Regions from separate parts of the Homo sapiens genome. Here region 2 is linked to region 1. The links are contacts of gene promoters, found by promoter capture Hi-C in human tissues and cell types (Jung and others, 2019). All regions are on one chromosome and are shown on one strand. Each heading gives the region's core, a stretch centred on a gene start or on the middle of the fragment in contact. The rest is flanking DNA. Distances are from core to core; before and after follow the strand shown.

Region 1 (3,635 bases), core at 318-2,817:
GAGAGAGCAGAGAATAAGTTCCAAATTAAAGATGTGAGTAATGGTCCCATCAATATAAAAAACGTACGAGTGTATGTGTATGTGTCTGTATGTACACATGTGTATGCACACTGAAAAAAATCCAGAAGAATGCACATACCACGATGGAATTGGAGAAATTACAATTGGAGTAGAAACCTTTTAACTTTCTACACGTCTCTGTTGCTTCGTTTTTCAAGCTGGGATGCTATAAATGTAATAATTAAAACAATTTTTTTTTTCCTCTGAAGTCCTTGTCCTTTATTGGGCAAGGGGTGAGGGAAGCAGACAGACCGGTTGGACACAGTAGATGGGTGTGTGAGGACAAAATGCTACCAGAAAGCCAGCCAATCCACACTCCCCTGAAATGGATGCTAACGCCCTTCAAACCCTGGGCATTGGTTTCATACACAGCCTCTTCCAGGGATAAAAGGGGTTCTTGTACAGCTTCTTGTTACCCTCAACCATGGAGGCAAGTTCTGAGTTCTGGTTTTCCTAGGACACTAACTCTAGTCACAAAGATCTCTGGAGTGATCACACATGGTGGAGTGGCAGGGTGAATATTTCAAAAGGATAAGTAGAACAGGAGTCTTGCCCAAGCCCTGTCATGTCAGTGTCTGTGTGTGGCCTCCCAGCCCAACCAGAAATTGACAGAGAGGCATGTATATGGTGAAAAGATATATATATATATATTCAGAATTAGGCAGCTGCACTCAGTTTAGATAATCCCAATTTTGTTGGCAACATCCAAAGCATCGTAATCAGGAGTCAGTCGAACATATACCTTCTTCTCTCCATCAGGCCGAATCAGGGTGTTGACCTTGGCCACATCAATGTCATAGAGCTTCTTCACAGCCTGTTTGATCTGGTGCTTGTTGGCTTTAACATCCACAATGAACACAAGTGTGTTGTTGTCTTCTATCTTCTTCATGGCAGACTCAGTGGTCAGCGGAAACTTGATGATAGCATAGTGGTCAAGCTTGTTTCTCCTGGGAGCGCTCTTCCGAGGATATTTGGGCTGTCTCCGGAGTCGCAGTGTCTTCGGCCGCCGGAAGGTGGGTGACGTGTGGATCTTCTTTTTGTGGCTGTGGACACCTTTCAACACTGCCTTCTTGGCCTTTAAAGCCTTCGCTTTGGCTTCGGCTTTAGGAGGGGCAGGAGCTTCCTTCTTCACTTTCGGCACCATCTTGTGAAAAGGGTCCAAAACAAATTTTTTTAAATAAATAAGGATTTGGTACAGTGGGGACACAGTTGATCCACAACATAGGTGAGTAGTTCTGTTTCGTTTTGTTTTGTTTTGCTTTGCTTTGTTTTTTGAGACAGAGTCTCACTTTGTCACCCAGGCTGGAGGGCAATGGTGCCAATCTCGGCTCACTGAAACCTCCGCCCCACCAGGTTCAAGCGATTATCCTACCTCAGCCTCCCGAGCAGCTGAGATTACAGGCATGAGCCACCACACCCAGCTAATTTTTGTATTTTTAGTAGAGACAGGGTTTCACCATATTGGCCAGGCTGGTCTCCAACTCCTGACCTCAAGTGATCCAACCACCTCGGCCTCCCAAAGTGCTGGGATTACAGGCGTGAGCCACTGCGCCCAGCCAATAGGTGAGTTGTTCTTACTGTGTCACCATGAAGACCCAGCTCCCAGGAATCGGCCTGCAGTCTCCCTAGAACAAGCACACGGGCTGCCCACTAGCTGGAGTTTCACCTTCCCTGTCCTTGAATGCTCAGGAAGGAACACATTCTGGCTTCAGCACAACTGAGTTCAAGTCCAGGCTCTGCCACTCACTAGCTGTGTAACCCTCTGAGTCTCATAGCCTCCTCGATAAAATGCAAAGGTCAAGTTCTAACTTTTAGGTAATTAGTTTCTCAACAACAAACTTCACATGAACACTTAAATGGTAGCAGGCATGGTGCTAGGACCTGGGACACAGGTTGAACAAGACAGACGTGGTCTCTGCTGATAACCTACCAGTCACATTAGTCCCAATTAGCCCCCGGAAAAGATCTCTTGATGCATGGGTTACATCCTGTTCCTGAGTAAAGAATCTTGTGAGTTCCTCAAATCTTATCTTTAATTACTCAGATCTTATGAGTTCTTCCAACTGTTGATGTTCTGATTTTCCACTGATATGGAAAAGCACAATCCTTTGTTTCTAAACCATGAAGTTTTGCTTTATATTTATAAATCATAAAGTTTTTCTTTTCTTTTCTTTTTTTTTTTGAGACAGGGTCTTTGTCACCCAGGCTGGAGTGCAGTGGCGCAGTCTCATCTTACTGCAACCTCCATCTCCTAGGTTCAAGCAACCTTCCTGCCTCAGCCTCTCGAGTTGTTGGGATTGCAGGCATGTGCCACCATGCCCAGCTAATTTTTGTATTTTTAGTAGAGCAGAGTTTCACCATATTGGCTAGGCTGGTCTCGAACTACTGGCCTCAGGAGCGATGAGCTTCTCCTCAAGGGATCTGCCCGTCTCAACCTCCCAAAGTGCTGGGATTACAGGCATAAGCCACTGTGCCCTCTCTTATAAAGTTTCACTGATGGTTTTACATACAAAATGTTTTAGCCTGTATGTTATAACCTGTATCTAATCATTATGACCTCTGTATTATACCCTCCAATAAAAACAGACAATTCTGATATAAGAAGTTCCCTTCTCTTCTCCTAAACTTTCTTATAAAAACATTCCAAATTGTAAAAGATTCTGGCACACATCCAAATGTGTTGGTGCATCTTTCTGGGTTGATCCTCACCTTTGGCTTCAAATAAACCCTTATCAAAGTATTTCTGCCTCGGCAGCTTTAATTTCACTCCACAAAATGATGTAGTCATCAGTGTTTCAGAGTGGCCTCCCTGGTCACCCTGGACCTTCCTGAGCAGGTTTCAACCTTCATGCACGGAATCCATCGTGTTCCCCCAACTGGGATGCCCCTGCTGGATGCAACAGATAAGTTTCTCCTGAAATCAACGAACTTCCTGTTTTAGGCAAAGTTCTGCCTTATTGAAGCTGCTTTCCCCCTTGGCTAGGAGGTGCAGTGATGTTCTCAGAATAAGAGCTACTGCTACAAATTTAAGGTAAGGGTTTTTGTTGAATTCTAGGGCAGGGTAAAATAGGATCTTTGTGAATGGTTTCTCTAGGGGGTTGGGGAGAGACAAACTTTCCTTCGTTTTATCATTTTTTGATCACATTAGGGCACTCTTGCTCCACAACATAGCTTGTCTCACTCAAAACAACCAGGATGGGAAATGGGTCCTGTTAAGACTGACTGTACATCAGCCAGTGTTTATACATAAAAGTTATGGAGAAAGTTGTTTGTTTGTTTGTTTGTTTTGAGACGGAGTTTCGCGCTTGTCAGCCAGGCTGGAGTGCAATGACGTAATCTCAGCTCACTGCAACCTCCACCTCCAGGGTTCAAGCGATTCTCCAGCCTCAGCATCCCAGCCTCCCGAGTACCTGGGACTACAGATGCCCACCATCACGCCCAGCTAGTTTTTTGTTGTTGTTGTTGTTGTTTGTATTTTTAGTAGAGACAGGGTTTCACCATGTTGGCCAGGCTGCTCACGAACTCCTGACCTCAGGTGATCCGCCTCCCTCGGCTTCCCAAAGTGCTGGGATTAC
Region 2 (3,635 bases), core at 355-2,854, 500 kb after region 1:
AGCAGCCCTGTGCAATTGATCAGTGGGTGGGATGCTGTGTACGGCCCTGGCCGGCCCCTGATAAGTCATGGTTCCTTGGATCCTGCTGTTTTGTTTGGAATAGGCAGCCACAGGCTAGCGATCTCAGTTATCAGCTTAGAGCACCCCCTACTCAGTCCCTGGCATCCCAAAAGGGGACTCCATCCCTGCAGCCTCAGGGTTCTAAGTCAGGCTTCCTGGGGCCCGTAGGTACTGCGTTCCAGTCTCCACTTCCTCTACCCTCTCAATAACCGTGGCATGGAGCTTTGCACCTGCGTGGCCTTGGGCAAGTCGCTTCCCTCTCTGAGGCTCAGTATCCTCCTGTGAAATGGGGGGATGTGATTTCCATGTCCAGGGAGGCTTCCAGGAGCCTTTTGGAAAAGTATACAGCCCACAGCAGGCACTACGTGCTCAGGAGTGAGGAGCTGGGTTTTCTATTCCCTGCAGCACAGTCACTCCCAGTCCCCTGCCCCTTTTACCCTCCCTCCTGTCTTCCAAACTCTGTCGCCATCCTGGGATGGGCCCTTGTCCCTCAGCCCAGGCCAGACCCCCCACGCTCAATGCTTTGGGACTTCCCCTTCCCTCCCTCCTCTCCTGTCTCATGTCCTGGGCTGTTTCCTGTGTGTGTTTGTGTTTGGGCATCTCTGTCCCTTCTCCCTTCCCTGGGAACATTGGGAATCTTTGGGAAGGCCTGGGGGGAAGGGGTACGTCCATGGAATGGTCTGGCCTTCCTCCTTTAACTCCTTCCTTCCTGGGTCCCCCTATCCCACGCAGCTGTTTCTCTAAGGTTTTTACTTGCTACCCTGCTGAACTCCTCCTCTGGCCACCTCTGATGTCCACCCTCTAGGGTCTCTGTTTGTAGCATAGTCCAAAGAGCTGTTTAAGTCGATGGCCCTGGGCACATGACCCAATTGCTCCGTGCCTCAGTTTCCCCATCTGTATAAAAGGGACAGTTTCCTGGGGCTAAGGCAGGCGCAGTTGCCGTCACTGTTAGTAGGTGGGAGGCGGAGGGGGCAGCTACTCTGATTGACGGGCCGCCCCTCTCTTTCCTTTGCAGGAGTACGCCTCCCATCTCCCATCCTGCGCCTCCAGGGCTCCCGATGCCCCTTGCCCAGCCCGACTGGGCCCCAGTGTCCCGGCCTCCCAGCCCCTCCTCCCCTCCACCCTCCAGGCCCTCAGTCGCGGCCCCATTTCCTGTCGTGGGCGAGGCCCCCTCCCGGGCCTCCCAAGGAGCCCGCAGCGCTGGCATCCCCGGCCAGCAGCACATAACGGTCCGCGCCCCCCTCCCTCCCAGCCCCTTCCTTCCAGGACCCCTACCCTCCCCTGGCTGGAGGCACCCCAGTCTGCAGCGGGGTGCGGGGGGCTCCCCCTGATCCCCCCCACCGTCTGTCCTCGGGGCCCTGGGACCCCGCTCCCAGGCCGGGTGGGGCTCGGCGCCCCCTGTTCCCCACCGATCTCCGCTTACCGCGCTCCTTGGCGTCCGACTTTTTCCGGGGAAGTTTCTCCCGGCCCCGCAGGCGGGAGAAGGTTTTCCTGAGTAGCGGCTCGGCCATGCTGCGGCCCGGGCCGGGCCGAGCCGAGTGCGCGCCCCGGGCTCCGGCCGCGCCGCCCCGCGCCCTCCCCGCCCCGCCCGGGCCTCCCCGCCCGCCCCCCGCCCCGCGCCAGCAGGAAGCACATTCCGGGAATGCTTGGCCCAAACTTTTTTTTTTTTTCCCCTTTCCCGCGGCCCGAGCGGGCGATGCTGGGAGATGTAGTTGCCTGGGGCCGGGAGGGGTTGGAATGGGGGCTCCGGGTGCCCGGATCCGCTCCAGCTTCGATGGGACGTGACGATCGTGGCGCAGGCCCGATCCCTTGTCTTCCACCTCACCCACCCTCCCTGGATGGGACTCTGGGTGATGGCATCCAGGAAGTTCTCTTGGGTCTGTCTCCAAATCGCAGCCTCCACGTATCCTCTCTCTCCTTGCCAGGTACTGCTTCAACCTGGTGCAAGCCGTAGTGTCATTCGTTTCAATGACCGTCCCCACTACCCACCCCACCCCAAGCTTCTTCCTTGGTCTCCCCATGCCACTCTTTCCCCACTCAATTCTCTCACCTCCAAATTCCAATTACTACTGCTGTTTGACAAACCATCCCCAAACGTAATGATGTAAAACAACCATGTCGTGATTGTGAAAGGAAAATAAATCTTGAGACCTCCAAATCACTGAGCCAAAAGGAAGAAGTCAAACTGGTAACTGTGTAGGACAAACCTGCCTCCCATTCTATTCCTAAGTAAGATAGCTACAAGGTTAAAAAAGCTAGCTGGGCGCGGTGGCTCACTCCTGTAATCCTAGCACTTTGGGAGGCTGAGGCGACGGATCACTTGAGGTCAGGAGTTCGAAACCAGGCTGGCCAACATGGTGAAACTCCATCTCTACTAAAAATATGAAAAAGAAAAAAAATTGGCCAGGCATGGTGGGTGGGCACTGGTAATCCCAGCTATTTGGGAGGCTGAGGCAGGAAAATTGCTTGAACACGGGAGGTGGAGGTTGCAGTGAATCAAAATTGCACCACTGCACTCTAGCCTGGTCATCAGAGCAAGATGCCGTCTAAAAAAAAAGAAGAAAAGAAAAGAAAAAAAAAGCTACATACCTCCCCCACAATTTGCCTACAAGGAAATTCCTTATGGATGAAGGACAGGCAGAACTCAAAATTGTCCCTCTGCTCACATGAGACAAACACATATCTGATCGCTTCCTTACCTATTTGTTTCACTAAGCCAGACTAAGGCATAAGTGACTATCTCTGTAAATTGCATATTCAGAAAGGCTAGTCAGAAACTCGAAAGAATGCAATTGTTTCTCTCTTATCCACCTATAACCTGGAAGCCTTCTCCCTACTTTTGAGTTGTCCTGCCTTCCCAGACCAAACCCATGTGCATCTTACATATATTGATTGCTGTCTCATGTCTCCCTAAAATATATAAAACTAGACCAAGGTGGAGTGCAGTGGTACCACCACAGCTCACTGCAGTCTCAGCCTCTTGGGCTCAAGTGATGCTCCTGCCTCAGCCTCCCGAGCAAGTGGGACTATAGGCATGTGTCACCATACCTGGCTAATTTCCCTACTTTTTGTAGAGATAGAGTCTCATCATGTTGCCCAGACTGGTCTCAAACTCCTGGGCTCGGCTGGGTGCGGTGGCTCACGCCTCTAATCCCAGCACTGTGGGAGGCCAAGGCGGGCGGATCACCTGAGGTTGGGAGTTCGAGACCAGCCTGACCAACATGGGGAAACCCCTTCTCTACTAAAAACACAAAATTAGCTGGGGGTGGTGGTGCATGCCTATAATCCCAGCTACTCGGGAGGCTGAGGCAGGAGAATCTCTTGAACCCGGGAGGCGGAGGTTGCAGGGAGCCAATATTGTGTCACTGCATTCCAGCCTGGGCAACAAGAGTGAAACTCCGTCTCAAAAAAACAAAACAAAAAAACAAAACAAAACAAAAAACCCTCCTGGTCTCAAGTGATCTGCCCGCCTTGGCCTACCAAGTAGCTAGGATTACAGACCTGAATCAAGGTAGTGGCCCTGACTACCCTAGTTTATGTTGTCAGGAGCTTCTAAGTCTGTGTCACAGGCATGT

Evidence for each region. The method cuts DNA at HindIII sites, captures the fragments that hold promoters and counts their contacts. A contact is called where the count stands out against the background at its distance.
Region 2: the fragment with the promoter of SYDE1 here is called in contact with a fragment that was not itself captured in region 1 in 3 of the 25 tissues and cell types used here (dorsolateral prefrontal cortex, lymphoblastoid cells and spleen).

The regions. Positions count from the first base shown.
Region 1 is chr19:15,609,225-15,612,859 of GRCh38, reverse strand. It overlaps the pseudogene RPL23AP2. Among named protein-coding and RNA genes, the nearest start is that of CYP4F8, 4.2 kb to the left of the region's middle. The HindIII fragment of the contact is 7,491 bases long and covers 1-3,635 here.
Region 2 is chr19:15,105,370-15,109,004 of GRCh38, reverse strand. SYDE1 (synapse defective Rho GTPase activating protein 1) reads right to left here and starts at 1,604. Exons shown (of 8, transcript NM_033025.6): 1 at 1,484-1,604. The coding sequence starts at 1,571. The HindIII fragment of the contact is 3,798 bases long and covers 1-2,858 here.